2 separate regions of the Homo sapiens genome follow, and region 2 is linked to region 1. The links are contacts of gene promoters, found by promoter capture Hi-C in blood cells and fetal thymus (Javierre and others, 2016). All regions are on one chromosome and are shown on one strand. Each heading gives the region's core, a stretch centred on a gene start or on the middle of the fragment in contact. The rest is flanking DNA. Distances are from core to core; before and after follow the strand shown. Region 1 holds the start of MALRD1-AS1 (MALRD1 antisense RNA 1). Region 2 has its middle 7.3 kb from the start of PLXDC2.

Region 1 (4,687 bases), core at 645-3,144:
CATAGCAGTATTCACAATAGTGAAAAGATGGAAACTACCCAAATTTCCATCAACAGGTGAATGAATAAACAAAATGTGACATATACATGCAAGGGAATATTATTCAGCAATAAAAATGATTAAACTTCTGATACATACTACAATATGGATGAATCTTGAAAACATTATGCTAAGTGAAATAAGCCAAACACAAAAGGACAAATACTGTATGATTCCACTTAGGTGAGGTACCTCGAGTCTCATAAAGACAGAAGGTAAATCAGAATTTACCTGGGATTGGTTGGAGGGGAATGGGGTGTTAATGCTCACTGGCCATGGAGCTTCAGTTCAGAGTTATAAAAACATTTTGGAAATAGTGGTAATGGTAGCACAACACTGTGAGTGGAATTAATGGCATTGAATTGTATACTTGAAATGGTTAAAATGGCAAATTTTATGTGATATATACCACTGTTTTAAAAATTAAAAATTAATAAAAGTAACATTACTGAAAACCATTGAATTGTGTACTTTAAGTTTGTGAATTGTATGGCATGTGATTTATAGCTCCATAAAGCTGTTAAAAATAAAAATACAAAATATTCACCTCGAAGTCATGTTTACTGGATGTAACATAGATTGGTTTTTGTTTTATTCTTTTTTTCTCCTTTCCCATTTGTAATAGTTTCAGACTATTATAAACACTTCCATGCTTTTATCAACACTAAAACAATGTTGTCAGTTAATAAGTGAATTCCATTAGAAGTATAAATATGCTCGCTAAATTAAAATTGGAAACTGCCATCAGAATTATCTTAGTTCTGCATTGATCTAGGTCTCTTGTCACACATTCAGAATGCCACTTCGCACAGTATCTGCACGTAATGGATATAAGATAAACTTAATAATAATTTATATGAATGCATGATAAGGGAGAAAAACTTATATGATCCATGCAACTTCCTTTCCTCTACTCAAAATTTCTAAGTCAGTTCCTTTATCATCATTATTCCTAGAGGTGGTTATATTCTTTAGAACCTCAATTCTTACAACTCACTTATTCATTGGGGGAAAAAAAATCAACTGCTTAAGAGCTACCGGCATATTGACAAATACAGTAAGTCAAACATTGCATTTTTTTTTTTTTGGCCTGATGAAGACTCATCATTACACCATTGAGTTTCAGAACTGGCAGGAAACTTTATAATGAAACAAACATTTTATTTCCCTCATGTAAGGATCCACCATTTTAAGTAAAATTGCCTGTGTTTGAATGTCAAATTGACATAGTTGATGAAAATGGAAAATCATAATATTGAACTTGAAATACTAAATGTATAGAGTGACACTAGCAATTTCCTTCATGGAAGAATCTGTGGACGGTGTAATAGTTTACCTTATAAATAAATAGGAAAGACATTAAAATTTAAGTCTAATAGTCCAGGGATTTTCAAGAATGGGAGATATATCTTTAATCTAGGAAAAATAAAAGCAATTTGAGACTACTAAAAAACAAAAGTTGAAGTAGGAAGGATTTGCCATTCCTCACCTTCCAATACTCACACTGAAACCCTTTCTTCTTTTATTACAACTCCACATCCTTACTCTTAAATATCATCTTCCTTCTTTGTAGTTACCCAAATCTTGAAGGCCAGACACCTTCAAATGTTTTTTCATTTTAATAGAAAATTATTTCAGACTTAAAACCCTTTCAGAAGACAAGTAGCTTCAATAATTGAATTAACAGAGCTGAGAATTATATAAATTTACCTGGCTTCTGCCTGCTGACCGTGGTCTGGGTCATCTGGAGTCCCAGCAGTTTAAGACCAAAAATAATTGCTTCATATCAAGATCTTTTGTGTTGCTTCTGCCTCACACCCTTGCAACTGACGGCCAAGCTGGTCCCTTCAGCTCCTGGTTGTATGCTCAGGCTTTGACCATCTGTCCTGTCTAGCCCTGTGGTTTGGGTTTCCTCCTGCTTCCTGATTTCATGCCTGATTTCAGCCTCTTAATTTTTCTGAGCTCTTGGTGTCAGTGTCTGTCTTATCTTTACTTAGTTCCTAATTTCTATTATGTTTTGATCATCCCTACTTCCATGTCCAATTTTTCCTGCTTTGGTATTTTGATGCATTTCAAAACTACACTTCACTCCCTACCCAATCTCAACTCCAAGATCATCCCTGGCTCAGTTCATGCACTAACCATGCTATGTACTGAGATTACTACTCCGAGAATTTAACATAGACTAGTCTTGAATAAAGTAAAGGCAAAGAGTCAAACACAACTTACTCAAATTAATCAGAGCAACTAATAAGCATTCAATTAGTGCTTAAGGAATTAACAGATATTTGTTGACTCAATTCAGACTTTTTTCAATAATAACCCACAAAATAGATGCATATGGCCCTATTCATCAATAAGCAAAATGTACCCGCGGTGAGGGTGAAACATTTAATCTATTGTATATTTAAGCCAGTGGAGATCAGGAAGCTTAAAAGACACTGAATCCACAGGGACAATGTATTGCCAGCCAAACATAATTAGCTAGATTAGACTGTTAGGCTCACTGATGCTGCAGTTTCTTTGAAAAGGACCATGTGGTTTGGTAGATGACAATAGGCAGTTATGCCTATGGCAATTTGTTTTCAGAAATCAAATCAGTAAGAGCCCCCTTCTTGCTACATTTTATTTTGGGATTTAGAATTATATTACTGACAAACATTAATTTTCACTGTATCCTGAATAGGCAAAAAATATACATTATACATACATTATACATTGTGTTATACAATTATCATACATTATATATTTGTTACTCGTGTCATTAAGCTCTTAAAACAATCATCCTGGAATTGGTCTTCCATTCTCCATTGTGTGTGTGTGTGTGTGTACACATGCATGTATAGGATCCTTTCTTATGTGTGTGTGTGTGTACACATGTGTGTATAGGATCCTTTCGTGTGTGTGTGTGTGTGTGTGTATTTAGTTCTTGGTTACTTTTTTTTGTTCCTACGATGGACATTTTTTCTTCATCAGTTGTCACCAAGTAGTCCAGGGCTGCGTGTCTTCTAATAAGTCTATTAATTCTTTTTTTTTTTTTTTTTTTTTTTTTTTTTTTTTGAGACGGAGTCTCGCTCTGTGGCCCAGGCTGGAGTGCAGTGGCGCGATCTCGGCTCACTGCAAGCTCCGCCTCCCGGGTTCACGCCATTCTCCTGCCTCAGCCTCCCAAGTAGCTGGGACTACAGGCGCCCGCCACCACGCCCGGCTAATTTTTTTGTATTTTCAGTAGAGACGGGGTTTCACCGTGTTAGCCAGGATGGTCTCGATCTCCTGACCTCGTGATCCGCCCGCCTCGGCCTCCCGAAGTGCTGGGATTACAGGCGTGAGCCACCACGCCCGGCCTATAAGTCTATTAATTCTTAAGTAAAGTATAAAAGGAAAATAATCATATGGAGCCCAGTTAATTATAGTGAATTATGCACATGTAGTCCAATATGTGATATTACCAAGGGCTTGCTGTTTTTGAGTTTCATGAAACACTACCCTAAAGAACTTTTCAAAACAGTTGTATTTAAATTTGCTGATTAAAATGTTAAAGACTATGACTCATGTGCTACAGATCTTTATGACAGATACTGTCATGGAAAACAGTCTTCAGGATGTAGTGGTTTGGCACTGTGCAGTGTAAAGGACTTCAAGATGGCCTTTCTTTATCACTAGTACAGCTTCATATTACATTGTTCTTTCTAATGTTGGACACTTTGCACTGAGTAATATTTTAAGAAATCAACATTAAGACTAACTTTTGCAATTTCTTTTATTTGCCTGAGTTTATTTGGATCTAAACACTCAGAGTTCAAATTACATTTGCTTTCCTGAATGTGGTTGCCTTGGTGTCCTGCAAAAAATAAAAAATAAAAAACAAACTTTACTTATGGTAATACATTCATGAAAATAAGTGTGCTGGCTAGACAACATGTCTCTCAAAAGTTTCTAACAAACAATAACCTGAAAATGTACTATGGTAAATGTCAATAGTTTTTTATTTTTGATGGCCCTGTGTGCTTTAAGGAAAACCGAGGGAAGTGGTAACTGTGCCTTTGTCAATCCAGTTTACGGGAACTGGAGCAACCCAGAGAAAACAGAGGTAAGTGGCAAGGGTGAACTATATCTTTTCACACATATGCACACACATACAAACACACACACACACACAGGCTGAACCAGTGTTGCTTGATCATGTTTCTACATCATAACTAAAAGAAATGTTTTAGTGGAGTTATTTCAATTGGGGATAGAAAGGAGTTTCCATCTCTATAAATATGCTGTGAGAATTGTCCATTTCAGGACAGTTTCAGTCTGCTTGTAAGATCACTTCACTGTTAAATGGTGTTGTGGTCACTATTTATACTCAAAAAGAGCTGAAAAATCTGGGAAATATCAGTTTAACCCACAGAGTATTAGTCAGCTGCTTACAGTAACTATTCATTGAATGTCTTTCATATTTTATTTTCAAAAACAAAAGAGAGGATAGCATTCTATGTTCTGTTTAAATTTAGGGTGACTAGTGAGGGCCATTACCTGATAACTTAGAAGAGAAAAAACAAATGAGAATGTATTACATCTTCCTTGGCCCTTTTTGGGGCTACCCCTTATTTTTATAAGCAGGGAGAAAATGGCAAGGAAAACCTTTCTTGTTCCTTTTTTA
Region 2 (4,687 bases), core at 560-3,059, 80 kb after region 1:
GGCTCACACCTGTAATCCCAGCACTTTGGGACGCTGAGGCGGGTGGATCACCTGAGTTCAGGAGTTCAAGACCAGCCTGGCCAACATGGTGAAACCCTGTCTCTACTAAAAACACAAAAATCATCTGGGTGTGGTGGCATACATCTGTAATCACAGCTACTTGGGAGGCAGAGGCAGGAGATCACTTGAACCTGGAAGATGGAGGTTGCAGTGAGCCAAGATGGTGCCACTGCACTCCAGCCTGGGTGATAGAGTGAAAGACTCCATCAAAAAACAACAACAAAAAAAGAAAACAATAACAAAATTGCAAATATGATACTTACCTTATCAGTAATTATATTACATTTAAATGGATTAAACTTTCCAATTAACAGGAAGATATTGCATAATATATTTTTTTAAAACAAAGTTTATCTATATGCTAACTCTAAGAGACAAAATTTAGATTCAATGACACACAAAAAAAATTAAAAGAATAGGAAAACATATACCATCTAAAGAGTAACCAAGAGAGCTGGAGAGTCCATACTAATATTTGACAATAAAAGATTTTAAAACAAAACTTGTTACCAGAGATCAAAAGAACTTTTTATAATTATGAGTCAATCTTCTGAGAAGATATAACAATTATAAACATATATGCAGTTAACAATGGAGCATAAAAGACATAAAGACAAACTGAAAGAATTGAAAAGATAAAAAGACAGTTAAAAATAATAGTTGAAGACATTAAATAGTGGTTAGAACAAGTAAACACAAAATTAAACATACTGCTGAAGACTTGTGCAAACCTATAAACCGTCTAGACCAGAGACATCTGCAGAACATTCTCTATGTCTGTGGACTTCTGTAGAACATCTGTGAAACAACAGAATATATTCTTCTCAAGTGCTCACTGAATGTTCTCCAAAAGAGACTATGTATTAGTCAATACAGCAAGTCTCAATAAATGTAAAAGGTTTGACATCTTACAAAATATGTTCTCAGACCAAAATGAAATAAAGTTAGAAATCAATAATATAGAAAATTTGGGATATTCTCTGATGCATAGATATTAAACAACACATTCCTAAATGACTGATGGATAAAAGAAGAAATCACAAGGGAAATTAGAAAATATTTTGAGATTAGTGAAATAAAAACACAATATATCAAAACTTGGGATGCAGCAAAAACAGTATTCAGAGAGAAAATTATAGCTACAAATGCCTACATTTAAAAAGAATAGATCTAAAATTAATGACCTGACTTTCCACCTTAAGAAACTAGAAAAAAACGTAAGCTAACCTAAAGCAAATAGGCGGTAAACAAGAAAGATTATTGTGGAAATAAAAGAAATAGAGAATGAGAATAGAAAAACAATCAAGAATGTCAACAAAACTCTTCGTTTTTGATCAACAACATTGACAAAGCTTTACTTCAATTTACCAAGAAAAAAGACAGAACACCCAAGTTATCAGAAACGAAAAAGTGGACATTACTACCAACCATACAGAAATAAAAATTGTTATATGAGAATATTATACACAATTGTATACTAATAAATTAGATAACAAATGGAAAATTCCTGACAAAGAAAATATCGAAACAGGCTCAAACAGTAATAGAAAATCTGACAAGACTGATAAAAAAGAGAAACAGTAGATTAATAAAGAAAAAATTTCCACACACACAAAAAATCATACCCAGATGGCTTCACTGGTGAATTCTACTAAAAGATTAAAGATAAATTAACACATATTTTCCAAATGTTTCCAAAAGGTAAAGAAGAAGGAACACTTCCTAACTCATTCTAATGAGGGTAGTATTACCCTGATACCAAAACCTGGCAAAGACCTCACAAGAAAAGACAAATAAAAACTAATGCCCCTTACATATATGGATGCAGAATTTTTTTAAAATGCTAGAAAGCTGAATTTAGTATCTGAGAAAAAGGACCATATCCCATGACCAAGTAGAATTTCTCTTGAGTATATAAGATTGGTTCAACACATCAAAATCTATCCAAGTAATATGCCATACCAATAGAATAAAAGAAACAAATGCACAATCTTATTAGTTGATGCAGAAAAAAAAATTGGCAAAATCCAACACCCACTCATGATAAATATACTCATAAACTAGGAATGGGAGGAATCTTGCTCAACCTGATAAAGGGCATCAGTGAAAACTCCACAGCTAATGTCATGTTTAATGGTGAAAGAGTTAAAGCTTTCCCTATAGCATCAAGAACAAGACAACTACTGTCAACACTTCCATTTAACATTGTACCAGAGGTTCTAACCAGGGTAATTTGGTAAGAAAATATAACAAAAGGCATCTATCTATATGGGAAAGGAAGACAAAAGAAAAAGATATTTGAAGATCTTATACCTAAAAAAAACCCCTAAGAAATTCTCACACCTGTAAAAAACTATTAGATATAATAAATGCATTGGGAATGTGGGGATATCTCACATTCATGGATTGGAAGACTTCATATTGTCAAGATGGCAACAGTCCCAAAATTAATCTAGAGGTTCAATTAAATCCCAATCAATTGGCAAGTTTGCAAGATTAATAAACAAAAAATAAGTTGTACTCCTATCTATTAACTGGTATATGCTGGATTTTGTGCCCCTCCAAACTCATATGTTAAAGGCCTAACTCTCAGAACCCGAAAATGTGCCTGTAATTGGGAATTGAGCATTAAAAGAGGTGTTCAAGTTAAAATGAGGCCATTATGGTGGTTCCTAATCCAATCTCACTGCTGACCTTATGGTAAAAGAAAATTTGAATAAAAAGGAAGATGTGTACACAGAGAAATGATCATGTGAGAACATGAGCATTTACAAGCCAAGAAGTAAGGCCTCTGAAGAAACCAAAACTGCTGGCACCCTGATCTGGGACTCTTAGCCTCCAGAAATGTGAGTGTTTACACCACTCAGTCAGTGGTGTTTTGTCGTGGCAGCCCTAGCAAACTAATATGAGAACCATTCGAAATCTACAAATGTAATTAAGAAAACGATTTCATTTATAACAGCATCAAAAAGAATAAAATACTTAGAAATAAATATAACAAAACAAGTGCAATGCTAGTACATTGAAGCTACAAAACTACATAACAATATTGAAATAAATTAAAGAAGAGGAAAATTAATAGAAAGACATCTCACATTCATGGATTGGAAGACTTCATATTGTCAAGATGGCAACAGTCCCAAAATTAATCTAGAGGTTCAATTAAATCCCAATCAAAATTCCAACAGCCTCTTTTGGAGAAATGGACAAGCGAATTCTAAACTTTATATGAAAATGCAAAGGATTCAGACTAGCTAAATCAATCTTGATAAACAGAACATAGCAAGAGGACTCACACTTCCTTATTTCAACTCTTACCAAAAAGCTACAGTAACCAAAACAGTGTAGTATAAGGAGAGACATATATATTAATGGGATAGAATTGGGAGTCCAGAAATAAACCTATATGTCTATGGCCAACTGATTTTCAACAATGATGTCAAGATCATTCAATGCAGTAACAATCTTTTCAACAAGTGGCTGAGACAATTGTATGTCCATATGCAAAAGAATAATTTTTGTCCCCTTCCTCACATTTTATACAAAAATTTACATAAATGGACCAAAGAACTAAATATGAAAATGAAACTATAAAATTCTTAGGAGAAAATATAGGCATAAATCAACCTTGGATTAGGCATGAGTTTCTTATACATGACACCTATAGTAGAAGTAACCAAAGAAAAATATATACATCTTGCTTTATCAAAATAAAAAACAACGTGCATCAAAGAACACTATCAAGAAAGCGAAAAGACAACCCATATTATGTCATTTCTTTCAGAAAATGTTTGCAAATCCTACATACTTTAAGAGCCCAACATCCAGACTATGTTGAGAATTCATACAACTCAACAATAAAAACACAGTCGAATTAAAAATGAGAAAGGGTTTAGAGAGAATCTTTTCCAGAGAAGATACATGAATGCTCAATAAGCCCAAGAAAAGATGCTTACCATCAATAGTCGTCAGGGAAATGCAAATAAAAACCAGAATGTCATACCACTTCACACCAACTGGGATCACTGTAGTTTTTTTTTCAATGAAAAACAAGTATTTGCAAAGATGAGGAGAAATTTGAACCCTCATGCATTGTTAGGAAAGTAAAAAGGTGCAACCACTGTGGAAAACAGTTTGTCATTTTCTCACAAAGTTAATTATAGTGTCACCATACTGCTCATATGTTCACACAAATTGTGCATAGATTTTTAAAGTCACGTTATTCATAATAGGCAAAAAGTGGGAACAACCCAAATGTCCAATAACTGATGGACTTAATCTTTTATCCATAATATAATTCAATGGAATATTGGAAATAAAAAGGAACGAAGTACAGATACAGTCAACAGCATGGGTGAATTTGAAAACATTATGCTAAGCAAAAGAAATCAGCCACAAAAGGCCGTATACTGTATGATTCCATTTATGTGAGCTCTCCAGGAGGAACAAATTCCCAGAGACAGAAAGTAGATTAGTGTTTGCCAGGGGCTGAGGAGAAAGGGGAATGGGCAGTGATTGTTAATGGGTATGGGGTTTCTTTTTGGAGTGATGACATGTTCTGGAATTAGATGGTAGTCTTGATTTTACCATCTTGTGGGCATATTAAAAACCACTGAATTATGTACAC

Evidence for each region. The method cuts DNA at HindIII sites, captures the fragments that hold promoters and counts their contacts. A CHiCAGO score of 5 or more calls a contact.
Region 2: a fragment that was not itself captured here is called in contact with the fragment with the promoter of MALRD1-AS1 in region 1 in 1 of 17 cell types (megakaryocytes); the score reaches 5.1 in megakaryocytes.

What each region holds. Positions count from the first base shown.
Region 1 is chr10:19,726,656-19,731,342 of GRCh38, forward strand. It overlaps MALRD1-AS1 (MALRD1 antisense RNA 1), which reads right to left and starts at 1,895. Exons shown (of 5, transcript NR_120646.1): 1 at 1,750-1,895. It overlaps MALRD1 (MAM and LDL receptor class A domain containing 1), which reads left to right. Exons shown (of 40, transcript NM_001142308.3): 39 at 4,051-4,126. The HindIII fragment of the contact is 5,040 bases long and covers 1-2,467 here.
Region 2 is chr10:19,806,803-19,811,489 of GRCh38, forward strand. No RefSeq gene overlaps it. Among named protein-coding and RNA genes, the nearest start is that of PLXDC2, 7.3 kb to the right of the region's middle. The HindIII fragment of the contact is 799 bases long and covers 1,411-2,209 here.